5 separate regions of the Homo sapiens genome follow, and all the other regions are linked to region 2. The links are contacts of gene promoters, found by promoter capture Hi-C in blood cells and fetal thymus (Javierre and others, 2016). All regions are on one chromosome and are shown on one strand. Each heading gives the region's core, a stretch centred on a gene start or on the middle of the fragment in contact. The rest is flanking DNA. Distances are from core to core; before and after follow the strand shown. Region 1 overlaps SF3A3 (splicing factor 3a subunit 3). Region 2 holds the start of RRAGC (Ras related GTP binding C). Region 3 overlaps MIR3659HG (MIR3659 host gene). Region 4 overlaps UTP11 (UTP11 small subunit processome component). Region 5 overlaps INPP5B (inositol polyphosphate-5-phosphatase B).

Evidence for each region. The method cuts DNA at HindIII sites, captures the fragments that hold promoters and counts their contacts. A CHiCAGO score of 5 or more calls a contact.
Region 1: a contact is called between a fragment that was not itself captured here and the fragment with the promoter of RRAGC in region 2, in 1 of 17 cell types (endothelial precursors). The highest score is 5.4, in endothelial precursors.
Region 3: a fragment that was not itself captured here is called in contact with the fragment with the promoter of RRAGC in region 2 in 1 of 17 cell types (M0 macrophages); the score reaches 5.7 in M0 macrophages.
Region 4: a fragment that was not itself captured here is called in contact with the fragment with the promoter of RRAGC in region 2 in 5 of 17 cell types (M1 macrophages, erythroblasts, monocytes and 2 more); the score reaches 6.8 in M1 macrophages.
Region 5: a fragment that was not itself captured here is called in contact with the fragment with the promoter of RRAGC in region 2 in 1 of 17 cell types (erythroblasts); the score reaches 5.9 in erythroblasts.

What each region holds. Positions count from the first base shown.
Region 1 is chr1:37,966,658-37,969,895 of GRCh38, reverse strand. SF3A3 (splicing factor 3a subunit 3) reads left to right here. Exons shown (of 17, transcript NM_006802.4): 13 at 161-325; 14 at 432-542; 15 at 1,762-1,852. Among named protein-coding and RNA genes, the nearest start is that of INPP5B, 21 kb to the right of the region's middle. The HindIII fragment of the contact is 3,010 bases long and covers 458-3,238 here.
Region 2 is chr1:38,857,640-38,861,249 of GRCh38, reverse strand. RRAGC (Ras related GTP binding C) reads left to right here and starts at 1,478. Exons shown (of 7, transcript NM_022157.4): 1 at 1,478-1,840. The coding sequence starts at 1,604. It overlaps RRAGC-DT (RRAGC divergent transcript), which reads right to left and starts at 1,357. Exons shown (of 2, transcript NR_186075.1): 1 at 1,011-1,357. RefSeq lists an enhancer at 1,259-1,553 and a silencer at 1,189-1,948. The HindIII fragment of the contact is 4,947 bases long and covers 1-3,610 here.
Region 3 is chr1:38,071,883-38,075,422 of GRCh38, reverse strand. The region is part of intron 1 of MIR3659HG (MIR3659 host gene); the gene reads right to left. Among named protein-coding and RNA genes, the nearest start is that of MIR3659, 16 kb to the left of the region's middle. The HindIII fragment of the contact is 5,724 bases long and covers 1-3,540 here.
Region 4 is chr1:38,019,267-38,022,538 of GRCh38, reverse strand. UTP11 (UTP11 small subunit processome component) reads right to left here. Exons shown (of 8, transcript NM_016037.4): 6 at 3,156-3,272. Among named protein-coding and RNA genes, the nearest start is that of UTP11, 8.2 kb to the right of the region's middle. The HindIII fragment of the contact is 2,007 bases long and covers 616-2,622 here.
Region 5 is chr1:37,885,760-37,888,892 of GRCh38, reverse strand. INPP5B (inositol polyphosphate-5-phosphatase B) reads left to right here. Exons shown (of 24, transcript NM_005540.3): 10 at 549-650; 11 at 1,428-1,542; 12 at 1,889-2,005; 13 at 3,068-3,133. Among named protein-coding and RNA genes, the nearest start is that of MTF1, 28 kb to the right of the region's middle. The HindIII fragment of the contact is 376 bases long and covers 1,083-1,458 here.

The sequences.
Region 1 (3,238 bases), core at 713-3,212, 890 kb after region 2:
ATAAGGAGTTCTGATATGAAGGCAAGATTTTCCTTTATTCTGTAAGAAAGAACCTTATCCTTGGAAGTAAGGGGTCAGCAAAAGTTACAGGAAAACAGGAAATTTCCCTTCTTATTCTGCACTACTTTTTTCTGACTTTTCATTTATGGACCTGCTTTAGGAACAGCGACATCTCACTCATGAAAATGTACAGCGCAAGCAAGCCAGGACAGGAGAAGAGCGAGAAGAAGAGGAAGAAGAGCAGATCAGTGAGAGTGAGAGTGAAGATGAAGAGAACGAGATCATTTACAACCCCAAAAACCTGCCACTTGGCTGGGATGGCAAAGTAAGTCTCAGCACTACCACTTTCTCCCCATTCCCCATTTTGGAAACAGATACAGAGTTTAGTAGGCTAACACTTCTTGGTTTTGTTTTGTTTTTTTCTTTTTTAGCCTATTCCCTACTGGCTGTATAAGCTTCATGGCCTAAATATCAACTACAACTGTGAGATTTGTGGAAACTACACCTACCGAGGGCCCAAAGCCTTCCAGCGACACTTTGCTGTAAGGAATTCAGAGCCATTTTTCCTGGGAATTGAAGTAAAAACATGAGACTTTTAGAGAAAAGAGTAGGAGCAGCCTATGTGGACCACTGGTGTCCAGAGCTGAAGGGAATCAGAGAAGGATGGTTTTAAAATCAAGCCCATGGCATTTGACTTTTGGCACCAATGTTAGTCTTAAATACCTGAGATAGTTTCTGGAGGAATTCTACCGCACCACTCTTTGAACCTTATTTGGTTTTCTCTTGCCTGCTCTTAAACTTCTCTGTTTTTGTCTTTCTGCTAGCATTTTAGACCAATTTCTGACTTCTTGGTTATTTCTCTACCCCATTGCTAATACTCAAGATAAAAAATAGGGCTGACTGATCTCTTTCAGATCTTAAATGGATCTTTGCCTCTTGAGAAAATAAAAAATGAAGGGGCTGATATTTATCAAGCCATTCTTGAGACAGGGTATTGTCCGGATGATACTGCTGTAAGTGGGCTCACCTCTAAGTGGGCTCTACTTAGAGTTCTTAGATTTTGGAAGGAAATTTTACAGAAAGGAAAACATTTATGCTAGACCAAGGATGACAAATTTATATGAACTCCTCTCCCCCTCTCTGAGTCATACATATTACTAATTGATAATGGGTCTTTTTTGCTGAGCCCATGAGTGAGTTCTGAATCCTTCTCAGCACCTCCTACAATGATTGGAGTTGGCATCCAGGATAAAGCCCATGCCATTTACCATCCCTTAGTTAAAACTGCCATCATGTCAGTGTATAATCTCCCTGCTCTCTCCTCACCACATCATTGTGCCTAATAAAAGTCTTCTCCTTTACCTACAAAGATGATGCTGACCTGCCATTAGTAACCCCTATTCATGCAGGTGTTTGGAGTTGCTGGGGCTTTGGTAAGTTCTCCTGCAATATGGGAGATGTAGTGAGAGTTGTGATGTTTTTCTGTGATCTTGACCCAGAGGTTTTATGTATAAGACTACTGGGTCTAGAATCTAGGTTTACAAGCCAACCCAGTGAGGCAAACAATGCAGTGCTGCTTTGAAATACCACCCTTTTGTCAGTCACAGCCAGCTGTTTACAAACATGAATCACAAAAGGAATGCTACCTTTAGGTGGAGTCTTGCAAAGGGCCATGTTAGGATTTATGAGTAGAATGGAGTTAGTGCTCTGTGTTCAGCTATTCCCATTTCACATGATCCTTTTGCTTCTCTCTTCTCCCAGGAATGGCGTCATGCTCATGGCATGAGGTGTTTGGGCATCCCAAACACTGCTCACTTTGCTAATGTGACACAGATTGAAGATGCTGTCTCCTGTAAGTAAGATTTATTTACTGTCTCCTAGGCGAGTACAAATGGCTCTACTCCTTCAATTCAGCATCCTAATACCCTGTGTATCCAGGGTTAAAGGCAGTAGGTTGTGGATATGTAAAATCTAGGACAGTTGTATAATTATTGCATTTCTGTTTTTTGTTTTGTGTTTTTTTGTTTTGTTTTGAGATGGATGGAGTCTCGCTCTGTCGCCAGGCTGGAGTGTAATGGTGCAGTCTTGGCCCACTGCAACCTCTGCCTCCCGGGCGCAAGCGATTCTCCTGCCTCAGCCTACCGAGTAGCTGGGACTACAGGCACGTGCCACCACACCTGGCTAATTTTTTTTTTTTTTTTTTTTTTTTTTTTTTTTTGTGACGGAGTCTCACTCTGTCGCCCAGGTTGGAGTGCAGTGGCATGATCTCGGCTCACTGCAAGTTCCACCTCCTGGGTTCATGCCATTCTCCTGCCTCAGCCTCCCGGTAGCTGGGACTACAGGCGCCCGCCACCACACTTGGCTAATTTTTTGTGTTTTTAGTAGAGACAGGGTTTCACAGTGTTAGCCAGGATGGTCTTGATCTCCTGACCTCATGATCCGCCCGCCTTGGCCTCCCAAAGTGCTGGGATTACAGGCATGAGCCGCCACACCTGGCTAATTTTTTGTATTTTTAGTAGAGACGGGGTTTCACTGTGTGAGCCAGGATGGCCTTGAACTCCCGACCTCAGGTGATCCGCCCACTTCAGCCTCCCAAAGTGCTGGGATTATAGGCGTGAGCCACCATGCCCAGCCTTTGTTTCTGAGACGAGTCTCACTCTGTCACCAGGCTGGAGTGCAGTGGCACGATCTTGGCTCCTGCAACCTCCGTCTCCTGGGCTCAAGCAATTCTCCTGCCTCAGCCTCCCTAGTACCTGGGATTACAGGCATGTGCCACCATGCCCAGCTAATTTTTCTATTTTTAGTAGAGATGGGCTTTCATCATGTTGGCCAGGCTGGTTGAGGTGACGAACTCCTGACCTCAAGTGATCCACCCATGTTGGCCTCCCAAAGTGCTGGGATAACAGGCGTGAGCCACCGCGCCTAATTATTGCATTTTTTTTTTTTTTTTTTTTTTTTTTGAGATGGAGTTTCGCTCATATTGCCCAGGCTGGAGTGCAATGGTGCGATCTCGGCTCACTGCAACCTGTGCCTCCTGGGTTCAAGCGATTCTCCTGCCTCAGCCTCCCGAGTAGCTGGGATTACAAGTATGCGCCACCATGCCTGGCTAATTTTGTACTTTTAGTAGAGACGGGTTTCTCCATGTTGGTCAGGCTGGTCTTGAACTCCTGACCTCAGGTGATCTGCCCACCTCGGCCTCCCAAAGTGCTGCGATTACAGGCGTGATCCACCGTGCCCA
Region 2 (3,610 bases), core at 229-2,728:
CCCGCCACCACGCCCGGCTAATTTTTTGTATTTTTTTAAGTAGAGATGGGGTTTCACCATGTTAGCCAGGATGGTCTCGATCTCCTGACCTCATGATCCGCCCGCCTCTGCCTCCCAAAGTGCTGGGATTACAAGCGTGAGCCACCGCGCGGCCGGCTTTAACAATTTTTAAACAAAGGTTTACCACAGTGGAGTTGGCTGCCTTTCGAGATGGTGAGCTCTTTTACCTTCGAACTATTTAAGTGCATTCTGCATGTCTATTAGACACTATAGAGTTGGTTCGTTTTAGGTGAGAGGTTGGGCTAGATGACCTCTAAGGGTGTATCCTACCTCTAACTTCTGGGTTCAGACAAAACCAAAGTCCCAGACCTGCCCGCATGTGCGAATTTTTCCTTCATAATCAAGAAGTCAGTCTCCTTGGAGGGCTGGGAGCACCCCCACTCCTGTACTTTAAAAAGTGTATAGGGCTGTGCTTTAAGAGGATCCTCTTCTCAAACTTCCAGTTCTAGAGCCTGATTATCAAAAATAAAAATTCCTCTAGATTTCTCGGACATATTTGGTGACAAGCATTTGCTTTTGTTTGCTTTCATTATTCAATACTTTGGTCTCTAATCTGAACGAGGTCATAGAAGAGGCAGTGTTCTATGGGGGATGGAATTCCTAGAGTAGACTTTGACAAGGCGGGAAGGAGGGCAAATTGAGTCCCGTTGGGTTTGAAGTGGCAGCAGTATCCACTATCGGCGACTTACTGAAGAAAGAAGATAAGATGTTCTAGCTTGGCTGCATCTGCTTTCCCATCAGGGTCCAGCTACCTGCTAGAACAAACTATCACGGTGACCCATGACTCTGCCTTGGTTGAGGTTTGCCCTCAGTGTGGCTGGCTCCCCCATACCTTTGCACATCCCAATCTATCCATCCACCTAGATCTGCTCAGACGCTTTCTCATTCAACTCCCGAGCATTATTTATCCGTGACCTTCCCACATAATATTTCGTAGCGAGGTTACTTACGCAGAGGTCCGATCTCTCTGTTCATCTTCAAGCAACCTGAAGGCAGGCAGGGTCTGCGTCGGATCCAGTTCTGTGCCCCTTGGTAGGCACCCAGGACACTGCAGGCATCAATAAATATCGGTTGGGCAAGTACAGTTGCAGGATGAGGACAATCAATTCTTCCTCAAATGCCGGGAGAGCATCTCCATAGCGGTGCTCTGGGAGCCCGGAAGAAGGCAGGGGAGCGGTGCAGACAGCGTTGTATGCGGGCCGGGGCGGAGGGCTGAGGGCCCGAGCCGGGGCTAGAGGCGCGGCCGGGCCGCCCTCCTCGTGACTCCTCCTCCCCCCTCCGCGGCTCTGAGTCAGGTGATTCCGGCACGTGACGGGGCACCACCTACCCTGCTGCTCTCGAGTAGCAGCTCGGGCGGCCAATAAGCGGCTGGGCTTCGGCTCGGGGCCTATGAGAGCCGGGCTCCGGGGGGCGGGCCGGACTGTGGCGGCTGCCGGGGGCGGTGGCGGTGGTGGCGGCGGCGGCGGAGGCGGACTGGGGAGGCGGCGGCCTGGCTCGGCCTGGCCTGGCCTGTCAGGGCGCGGGCGGCGGCGGCTCCAGCACCATGTCCCTGCAGTACGGGGCGGAGGAGACGCCCCTCGCCGGCAGTTACGGCGCGGCCGATTCGTTTCCAAAGGACTTCGGCTACGGCGTGGAGGAGGAGGAAGAGGAGGCGGCGGCGGCGGGCGGAGGGGTTGGGGCAGGGGCAGGCGGTGGCTGTGGTCCGGGGGGCGCTGACAGCTCCAAGCCGAGGATTCTGCTCATGGGACTCCGGCGCAGCGGCAAGTCCTCCATCCAGAAGGTGAGCAGGGCTGCGCCCAGTCCCCCGCCCCCTCCCCGGTTCTCAGGTGGCCGGTAGCGGGGACGCCCGGGAGGGCGGCGGCCGGGGCCCGCCTGCGCTCCGTCCCTCCGCACTTTCTCTTCCACTCTTGCGAGCGCACAGGCGCGGCCCGCGCGGGGACCCCGACCTCTGTGTCCACGCCCAAGTCAGCTGAAGCCAAGTGGAGCGCTGAAGGCGAAACTGGTTGCCGGGAGGCAGGTGCCCGGTGGCACCGCCCAAGACCTCCGCCCCCTGGGACCCAGCTCCTGTGTCATTTACGAAACTGAGACGTACTCTCCAGTTCTCACTTGGAGAACTTCGTGGACTCCCTCCCCTGGCCCGTTTTGATTTGTTCTCACTTCAGGTGACCTGAGTGTTTCGGGATTCCCAGCAGAGCCCCAGGGAGCAGCGTCAGGAAGAGTTGTGACTAAGACACTGGGCGTTGTAATTCTCGCTACTGATGTGAAGGAGACTTCGCTGTAGCATTACTGGGAATTGGGTAGTGAGATTGCACCCATTTCAGTAGTTGTGGCCTGGTGAATGTAATTACTGGTGCTGTTCCCCCTGTAGGGGTGTGTTTTTAAAAATCTGAGACTTTGAGAATATTTTGCAGACCTAGTCTGTTTGTTTTCACTTTTGGGCCTTCATGAACAAATGGAGGGCTGTACACGTTTGTTTGTTTATGTTTTTGAGACGGAGTCTCTCGCTCTGTCGCCCAGGCTGGAGAATGCAGTGGTGCAATCTCGGCTCACTGCAACCTCCACCTCCCTGGTTCAAGTAATTCTCCCGCCTCAGCCTCCCGAATAGCTGGGATTACAGGCGCGCGCCACCACGCCCGGCTAATTATTGTATTTTTAGTAGAGACGGGGTTTCACCATGTTGGCCAGGGTCATCTCGAACTGCTGACCTCAAGTGATCATCCGCCTTGGCCTCCCAAAGTGCTGGGATTACAGGTGTGAGTCACCACGCTGGCCTACACTGTTTAGTGAGGGTTAAATAGAGGCAAGGTTGACTTCCTCCATCAGCCAAACCCATTATACGCGGAGTGAGCTGGTAATAAAACTAGTATCAGCAGGCACCTGGTCTTTTCACCTCTCCACTCTGTTGCAAAGGCCTATCCAAAATAAATCTGTGATTTTTTTTTCTTTCTGAATCTGTGATATTTTGTAGATGGGATCTTTTTAAAAAGCAGCGTTCTTCCAGGTTTGCTGGAGTACTGTGTTTTATTTACCTTGATTTTCACCTCTACAGCAAAACTTGGGTACGTTGACTGTAGGTTTTTAGTAAACTAATTTCAGTTATTCACATTTGTTACTGAGAAAACCTTGAGAGTAATTGTTCACTTTTCTCTTCTAGACAGTAAGAGGCAAAGTAGTTTTATGTTAGAACTGTGTAGGTTGTGATTATTGTGATCCTTTTTTTTTTGTTTGTTTGTTATGGAGTCTTGCTCATCGCCCAGGCTGGAGGGCAGTGGTGTGATCTTCACTCACTGCAGCCTCCACCTCCTGGGTTCAAGTGATTCTCCTGCCTCAGCTTCCCAAGTAGCTGGGACTACAGGCGTGCACCACCACGCCCGACTAATTTTGGTATTTTTAGTGGGGATGGGGTTTCACCATATTGGTCAGGCTGGTCTCGAACTCCTGACCTCAAGTGATCCGCCCGCCTCGGCCGCCTAAAGTGCTGGGATTGAAGGCGTGAGCCACCGCACCCGGGCCGATTATTGTGACTCTTAACAATTGCCTTTACGTTTCT
Region 3 (3,540 bases), core at 849-3,348, 790 kb after region 2:
CAAGGCCACCTGTGGCCCCTCCTGGTTAGGGATATGTAAGATGTTTGCTTTTTCGGGGGGGTGGGGGGAAGTCTCGCTCTGTCGCCCAAGCTGCAGTGCAGAGGTGCAATCTCAGCTCACTGCAACCTCCACCTCCCAGGTTCAAGTGATTCTCCTGCCTCGGCCTCCCCAGTAGCTGGGGTTACAGGTGTGCGCCACCATGCACAGCTAATTTTTGTATTTTTAGTAAAGATAGTGTTTCACTATGTTGGCCAAGCTGATCTCAAACTCCTGACCTCATGATCCGCCCACCTCTGCCTCCCAAAGTGCTGGCATTACAGGCGTGAGCCACTGTGCCCAGCCTGGATGTTTGCTTTTAGGAGAAGAAGAAAAACTACAATTTCTGGTCCCTGTTAGGCAGTGCAGCTTAACAATGAAATCCTACAGAGGCATCGAGACCTGGGTTTGAATCCTAGCTCCACTATGTACTAGCTGTGGGATACTGGAAAGGTTACTCGCAGAGCCCCAGTTTCTTCATTTGTAAAACGAGGATAATGATAGTTTCAAACTTATAAATTGTTCAGAGAATTAAATGAGATAATTCATGCAAAGTGCTTAGCATGGTGCCCAGCACGGAATAAGTATTTCATAAATAAAGATGATCTTTCTTCAGTAAAAGTTTCCTTTGGAAAATGTCCAAGCCTCTAGGGGATTGCAGGCATCTGTCCATAGCAGAATTAGTATGAAAGTATTCAGGGGGTATCCCAGGCCGCTCCAACCTCCTGGTCCAGATGCTTTTGGGGCAAAATCTGAGCCATGTTCAGAGACCATGTTCAGGGACTGGGGCTGGGACTCAGTGTAAGGTCAGGTTTCAGGCTCAGTCTGGGCCCAAGTTCAAAGCTCTGCAACTAACTCATAACATAGCCTTGGGAAAGTCCCTTCCCAATGAGCCTCAGTTTCCTCATCTATAAAATGGGAACAACATCCTCATCCAGCTTGCCTCCCAGAGGCACCAGGCGAGTGCTGTTGAATCATGCATTTGCAGGCTCGCGCAAACCCCAGGGATCAGCCTCACTCTTCAGTGTTACTTATGTTCCTGTGGCCCTCAGACCTGCTGGATAAGAGATTCTTCTCCCTGTTTCCACAGGCCCACAATGGAGGCCATTCCTCAGGGTTAGAGCAGCCAGGCAGGGGACCCGATGGAGACACGGCAGGACACCCCAAGGCACTGCGGCCCCTCCCAGGAGCTGGGAACAGAAGGCTTGGAATTCACTACGCACATATTTGCTGACTTCTCTGCACTCTGCCTGCTTCAGGCATTCACTTCCCAGAAGTTTATTTGAGGAGATGCAGATGAGCCGGATTTGAGTTCCGCAGACCTGCCCAGACAAATGGCTGAGCCCTTTCTCACTCCCTCTCTCACACACTCTCCACCTCCCTTGCTTTTTCTTTGTCTGTCTGTCTCTCCTGGAAGACCTGCCCTTTGCTCTTGCTTTCTCCCCATGCTGTTTATTCTCCATTTGATCCCCTGGCCCAGATTCACACCCTGCCCTTCTCAGCCCTGAGCTGTGCCCCAGGAGACTGACCCCAGGGAACTGCCTGGCCTGGGTGCCCCTGGTTGGGTTCAGCTGGTGGGAGGCACCGGCAGAAGTTGGAGGGAAGGGGAAGAGGGAGGTCAGGGATTCCCTCCTCACTCCCTCCTTCCTGGGCAACATTTTTAGCAGTGGCTGTGTTTCTCCATGACTACGGCTTGCACCAGGCATTCCCTCCTCCACAACACCATTCCCTCCCCTCGTCTCATCAGCCCTTGAGGTGGTAAGGGCTTCTGACTGTTGCTAGTCCCTGGAGCCCCACCTCTCTTGCTGCTTCCTAAAATCTTCACCCAGGCCTTTGTAGGTAGCCCATTCATCACAGTCGCTGCATAGAAACCATTAGGAGTAGATTCTGTTTGCTGCCAGGCCCCTAACCAAACACTCCTCAAATCCACCACACACTTCACTAGTCCTGTATCACTCGCCTCTCTCTTGATACAAGCTCTCCTGAGCTCAGGGTGGGAAACATTCAGAATGTTTCTGTCATAGCCCTTAGTGGAGACCACCCAAGGGTGCTGAGGGCTGGGGGTAAGGGGTCCCTGCTGTTACACCCACACACACAGAACCAAGGGCCCCTCTCATCTTCTACCCAGGTCAGGGAGACTAGGGACAGCATGAAACTTAGAAAAGCTGGCTTAGAGCACCCCCTTTATCACAAACCAGCCAAAGCATTTAATAACCTCCATTTCTGCCAGTGTAACATAAAGAAATGCAGACCTCTCCCTGAGCGGTTAGGGGATCTACCTGGTGGGCTGATGGACATGTGTGTGGTTTGTGAACTGTAACCATGAGACGGGTGTGGAAAAATATTACTGAGTTCTCACAAGAGGCCAGCAGGACTCCTCCCCTCTCCAAGCTGTAAGGCAGGTGGGGGAAAGGATGACAGGCTTATGGGACAGTCAACATCTGAGGACCATGGCTGCTCCCTGCTCACAGGTGAGGAGGAGCTACTGCTTTTGACTAGTGATGCTGGGGTTGAGGTCTGGAATGGGGGCTAAGGTGGAAGTTGGATCTGTATTTAAGTTGTGGCTGAGATAGAAGCTGATTTTGAAATGGAAATAGGGGTGGGGCTATAGCTGAGGTGAAGGCTGTGATTAGGTTGGAGCTGAGGTGGGGTCAGGTGTTGAGTTTGGACTTGAGGCTGAGATCAGAGTTGGAAATGGATTAGGAGTTGAGGCTAAGTTTGGAGTTTGAGTTGGGTCAAGGGCTAAAATTTGATGTTGAGGTGAAAGCTAAGATTGGCACTGAGTTGGGGCCTGGACATGAGGTTCCAGAATCCTCCCTACCCACTCAGACCTCCACTGGGCTTTGGGAATGTAACTGACCTGCACAGAGGAGGTGTGGCCATATTGACATCTCCTCCTTCTCCTCCCTGGTGTGACTACATTCATTCATTCATTATTCCATCCAGTCACTCGATAAAAAATTTATCCATCACCTTTATGTGCTGTATACTATACTAGATCCTGGAAATACACGGGCGAATCAAGCAGGTGTAGCCGCTACCCTCACGGAGCTTATGGTTTAGAAAAGAAGAAAAACAAGAACTCAATAGTCCTGGAACTAGATGCATAGCTATGAGTGTGCAAAAGCCCAAGGAGCCATGTATCAGAAAGCACAGCAGGTAGAGAGTCATGGAAGGCCACTGGGTGTGAGCAAAGCCTCCTAAGTGGTTCAAAGTCAGTACAGGAAACAGACAACAGAGGGGTTGACTCTAGCTAGTAACCAAGGAATGCTTGTGGAAGGGGTGGCACTGTGCTAAGTTCTCTACAGTCTCTTCTAACTATGACACTAGGAGGCAGTAGATGCAGTAGGAGCCAGATAAACCTAAGCTCAAAGCCAGACTGTGTCAGATACAAACCAGCTGAGCTGTGTAACTTCAGGCAAATGACCTCCCTTCTTCCAGCCTCAGTTCCATTCTTTAAGATGGTGATAGTAATTCCTAGTTTGTGGGGCTGGTGTGAGGATT
Region 4 (3,272 bases), core at 370-2,869, 840 kb after region 2:
AACATCACATTCTGGAGCTGAAAGGAACCCTGGGCCAGACGCAGTGGCTCACGCCAGTAATCCCAGCACTTTGGGAGGCTGAGGAGGGAGGGTCACTTGAGCCCAGGAGTTCCAGACCAACGTAGGCAACATAATGAGACTCTGTCTCAAAAAAAAAAAATTAAAAATTAAAAAAGGAACCCTGTAGACTATCTTATCGAAACCCGTCATTTACAAACGCAGAAAAATGAGGCCCAGAGAAGAAGTGGTCCAAGGACACACAGCTCACCTGGAGCAGAGTCAGGACCGTCCCCCTCTCACAAATCCCAGGAATCTTTCCACTACTACACTAAGCTGCTTCAACCTTTGTGTGAGTGCCACAGTCACCTGAGATGATGGCAGGAATGAATCAGTGTTGGAAACCCTATACAAAGTGAATGGAGAGCAACAGAAGAGTCGGCAACAGAAGGGTCCCCAGGCAGTGTGCTGGTGCCTGAAAATCTTACCACTCAGAAAGCAGAAGAATTTTTTCAGCAGAAGCTCACCTGAGAATTCTCACTGCTAATGACTCCTCAAAGATCAGTGGGGTCCTTACATTTTGGGGAATCATCAACCTCAGAGAAACTGATGAAAGCTTTGGGATCTTTCTTCTTTTTTTTTTTTTTCTGAGGCGGAGTCTTGCTCTGTCGCCCAGGCTGGAGTGCAGTGGCACTATCTCGGCTCGCTACAACCTCCGCCTCCTGGGTTCAAGCAATTCTGCTGCCTCAGCCTCCCTAGTAGCTGGGATTACAGGTGCCCGCCACCACGCCTGGCTAATTTTTGTATTTTTAGTAGAGACAGGGTTTCACTACATTGGCCAGGCTAGTCTCGAACTCCTGACCTCAAGTGATCCACCTGCCTTGGCCTCCCAAATTGCTGGGACTACAGGCATGAGCCACCACGCCCAGCATGGGATGTTTCTTGAGATAAATGTACATACACATTTGTAAAAGGTTGTGCAAGCACATATACCTATCTGCACAAAATACCAGTGAGAAAGGGGGGTTTTCTCAGACCTCCTAAAGCTCACTCATGGGTTGTCTACCCACTCGAAGTTACAGACAAAATATCCTTGCAATCCACCCACCAGCAGTCTCTTAATAAAAATGATTTTGCAGTAAACAAAATAGAAAGAAACATAATTACTAGACAAAAATGGCAAAAATCTAAACCTCCCTAACTTCTCAAAAGCTATGCTGGTGAACTATTCTACATGGGAATTTGGAATACTAATCTCTTTAGGGACTACCACAATTCTTGAGAAGCGTCAGTGACACGGCTAATTGAAAGTACACCTAATTGCCGGGCGCGGTAGCTCACGCCTGTAATCCCTGCACTTTGGGAGGCTGAGGTGGGTGGATCACAAGGTCAGGAGTTCAAGACCAGCCTAGCCAAAATGGTGAAACCCTGTCTCTACTAAATATACAAAAAATTAGCCAGGCGTGGTGGCGGGCACCTGTAATCCCAGCTACTCGGGAGGCTGAGGCAAGAGAATTGCTTGAACCCAGGAGGCAGAGGTTGCAGTGAGCCGATATCACGCCACCGCACTCCAGCCTGGGTGACAGAGTGAGACTCCGTCTCAAAAAAAAAAAAAAGTACACCTAATTGACAAACAACAGGGTTATCACAAGAACACTCATGAGCAAGCTCTTTGGCTGGAAGTGTTATCTACAGAAGGAAATATTACTGGGCCTTAGACTTCAACAATTCACAGATTCTAGCACAGTCTCACAGCAGTGGTTTCAGACAGCTTTTGTTTTCGCTTTATTGCACAGACTGTCAGATTTATGGGATTACCCAATATAGTCAAACTAATTAGGGGTATTTATATTACTAAAGCAAGTTTAGCTGCCTCTGAGCTAGAGAAAACTGCTGTGAAATTAAACATTGGAAGCAAAACTGATGCAGTGTAAATGATTCAAATCAAAACAGAACAGCTGTCTGCTTGAAACACATTGACAGCATTTTTTTTTAATGAATCAGTCAGAAGAGTTCAACTCCAGAAGGCTTTCAGGAAAAGCATGTCTTCTGCACAACCCAGTTACAGTGACGGAAAGCACCATAAGGAAAAGCCAAAACAAAATTTTTGTTACAATACACAATATGAAAGACCTTTTGGGCAGGCATGGTGGCTCACGCCTGTAATCCCAACACTTCAGGAGGCCAAGGCGGGAGTAAACACTTGAGCTCAGGAGTTTAAGACCAGCCTGGGCAACTTAGCGAGACCCCGTTTCTACAAAAAAAATTTAAAATTAGCTAGGCATGGTGGCACACACCTGTGGTCCCAGCTACCCAGGAGGCTGAGGCAGGAGGATCGCTTAAGCCCAGAAGGTGGAGACTGCAGTGAGCCATAATCACACCATTGCACTCCAGCCTGGGTGACAGTGAGACCCTGTCTCAAGAAAAATAAAAACACAGAAAGACCTTTTGATGTGCGTATTCACTGCTAAAGGTTCAATATTAAAGTATTGCAAATCCTTTAATCTTCAGCAATCCCTTTCTCTGCATTTTCAAAACACTGGCATCTGTTACAAGTATTAAAAGCACAAAGCGCAGGGTCAGAATTGGGATTCAAACCCAGGTCTAAAGGCCAGAACCTAAGCTTCTGACCACTATACCTCCTCCGATCATAGAAATTAGGAAGCCCTTCTCCACTTCCATCCCATCATCAAATCATCCTACAAATCCACTTTTCTAAGGGAACTCATGAGTTTTCCATAAATAAATAATTATTTTAGGCCAGGCACAGTGGCTCACGCTTGTAATCCCGACACTTTGGGAGGCCAAGGCAGGCAGATCAACTGAGGTCAGGAGTTCAAGACCAGCCTGGCCAACATGGCGAAACCCCATCTCTATGAAAAATACAGAAATAAGCTGGGTGTGGTGTTGCACCCCTATAGTCCCAGTTACTGGGGAGGCTGAGGCATGAGAATTGCTTGAACCCAGGAGGCGGAGGTTGCAGTGAGCCGAGATCGTGCCACTGCACTCCAGCCTGGGAGACAGTGAGACTCTGACTAAAAAATAAAATAAAATAAATTTTAAAAATTATTTTAAATGCAGTAGCAAAAAAAAAAAAACAAAAAAAAAACACCTAGATTCCCCTAAGCTCACATGTGAAGAACAACAGAGAAAATTACCTTAAGTCCAGTCTGATTGGTAACTCCTTTCACTTTTTCTTTCTGCAAGGTCTCTATCCTGGGCCTATTAAAGACTCTGTCGACTAGCTCCGGGGCTGTTTGCAGGTGAGTTGCGAC
Region 5 (3,133 bases), core at 21-2,520, 970 kb after region 2:
AATTACTAAAATGAAGTTAGCTGGTGTTTGGTAATCTTTTTAGGCAAGATTACTAAAAGCTAAATTAATAAAGGTTGTGGGATTCTGCTAGATCTTTCAAAATCGTTGCATTGGGACTATAAGATAAAATAACATTGTTTCTAGGGATACAAACTGTGAATTATGGTGAAGAAATAGCCTTTTGAATACTGGTGTTGCTTTCTTGCCAAAAGTAATTACCAAAGCACTTTTCATTTTTTCATTTCAGTAGTATATACAAGGCAAATAATTATGCAGATAATGCCTGGGTAATGGCTGTTTAAAGGAAGTGGGAATGTTCGGAGTAGGCCTATACTATTTGAAGTTGTTATCACAAAAGTAACAGATACCATGACAGACCGCAAGTCACTCCTTGGTGCTGCAGTCCTGGTCTAGGTTAGAAATGACATTTCTTATGTCTCAAAATGCCAGTCCACAGAGACGGAAACCAGCATAAATCAGCATAAAATGCTTTCTCCTGTTATCTCCATAGTGATTCGGAGTCACTAATTATTTCTCTTTGGTGACAGGTTTTTTGCGGGAACATACAATGTAAATGGGCAGTCCCCCAAAGAATGCCTCCGGCTGTGGCTGAGCAATGGTATCCAGGCCCCAGATGTCTATTGTGTAGGGTGAGTGCTTCTCTTCTAGTCCCCTCTCCATCTTCAAGCACACAGAGCTGTGGTTGAAGGATGGGTCTTCACAACAGGTGAAGGATTTGAAAAATGAACAGATGCCTGATAACAGCTGTTTCCCTGTTTGATGTTCTTCCTCATGGCAAGCAAATGTCTGCCACTATTAAAGTGGGGTGCTTGGCATTTAAGTGCTAGTATTTAATTTTTAGTGTAATCTTCTGTTAAAATCCTGAATTGCATCCTGAACTCAGTGCATCCTGAACTGAACTTTATTGCTTGGACATTCAATACATTTTTGGTTACAAAGCAAAACTATCTTCTGCCAGAGAAGAAAGGTTAGCTGAAGAAAGTCCCATCAGTTAGTCTTTTTTTTTTTTAATCTTCTCATCTCTATACTGGGCATTACTAGTGGGGAGGGGCAGCAAAGCTTGTATGGTATATTGAAAAGAACTAGAATTCATAATTTATGTAGACCAAGGTTTGAATCCCAGTTTGCCACTTGGTGCTTGTGTGAACTAGGGGTTACAGATGTAAAATAGGGACACTTCGAACTACTTCATAGGCTGGTCATGAAAAGAAAATGGGTTTTTGTTTGCAACAGCACCTGCAAAGTTCCTTGGCATTTAGTTCCTTGGCTCTAAATGTTTATTTTTTCCTCCTGAGGGTCCTGAAGTTTAGCTAGAAAGCTAGGGCTTATGCACCTAAACCAATCTGAGAATGTGTCATTTGCACATTACTTTTCTTTACTATCTAACTGGTTGCTTCTCAAAATAGGTTCCAGGAGCTTGATCTGAGTAAGGAAGCTTTTTTCTTTCACGATACCCCAAAGGAGGAAGAGTGGTTCAAAGCTGTGTCAGAGGGTCTTCATCCAGATGCCAAATATGCAAAGGTAAGAGAGGAGTCAGGGACCTCTTAATTTTATGTTGCCATGCAGGGAAATTCCAAGATCATTTTTCACCTTTTCCATGACCTTTATCTTAAGCCAGTCTTAATTATCCCGCAATTTTCATTTCCAGATCTTCCAGAAGGGGTGCCTCCGGGTGGGAAAGATGCAGGGTCTCGCCACTCGTAGGTTAGCACATAGCATGCTTGGTGAATTGAACAGATGATTACCTGTGTTCTAGTGTGGAGAAGGAGACACGTGAATACTCTCAGCCAGCTTCCAGACTATGTTTCCTTTGGGGTATTTATTCCTGTTTGCAATTTCTATTTAATGCCATGTCTCTCTTTTCCAGGTGAAGCTTATCCGACTGGTTGGGATTATGCTGCTGTTATATGTCAAACAGGAGCATGCAGCTTATATCTCAGAAGTGGAAGCCGAGACTGTGGGGACAGGAATCATGGGGAGGATGGTGAGTCCTTGGTTGGTTTGTTTGGCACATTGAGGACCTTAGCTCCTGAGGTATTGACCACTTCTGATGACACAGTGACTACACGTGTCCCAGTTTGAAGGTGCCAATATTCCAAGATGAATCATACCCTCAAGCAGGGCTCAGTCGAGCAAACTATTTAGAAACTGTTTTAGTGAACTACCTGCTGATTTAACCAATTAGCGCCTGTCCTCATATTCCCCAACACTAGAGCCTCCAGTTGATCCTCCCATTTCACCCATGAAGTATGTTGCAGAAACTATGCTGGGTCATTCAGAAAAACAAAGAATGCTGACAGTAGGTTTGCAATTTCCTCTTCTTATTGAGGCCATTAAAGTTCTGTTTTTAGGTTCTTCTGTGAGAGCTTAGCTTTGTGTTTTCAAAGGGTACCTATGGTTTGCCTGTGATTTAGTGAAAAGAACACTGGATTAAGGGAGCTAGGTTTTGGGGCTGGGTGTGGTGGCTCACACCTGTAATCCCAGCACTTTGGGAGGCTGAGGTGGGTGGATCACTTGAGGCCAGGAGTTCGAGAGAGTTAGGTTGTGGATTCAGCTTTGCCATTGACTGGCTAGTCATTCTGCCTTCTTTTTTTTTTTAATCTGTACAATATAGATAATACCACAGGATTATTATAAAGATTAAGACAAAACATTTTGAAAGTCTGTAGGGTTTTTTTTTTGTTTGTTTGTTTTTGAGATGGAGTCTCACTCTGTCTCCCAGGCTGGAGTGCAGTGGCGTGATCTCAGCTCACTGCAACCTCTCCCTCCCGCGTTCAACCAGTGCTCTGCCTCAGCCTCCCGAGTAGCTGGGATGACAGGCGCCTGCCACCACACCCAGCTAATTTTTGTATTTTTAGTAGAGACGGGGTTTCACCATCTTGGCCAGGCTGGTCTTGAACTCCTGACCTCATGATCCACCCGCCTCGGACTCCCAAAGTGCTGGGATTACAGGCGTGAGCCACCGTGCCCGGCCAGAAAGTTTGTAGGTTTAAGTGACTGACACAATTAAGTTTGAATTGGATTTCTTTGGGGATCCTTTCCATAGGGCAACAAGGGAGGCGTGGCGATCAGGTTCCAGTTCCACAACACCAGCATCTGCGTTGTGAATTCT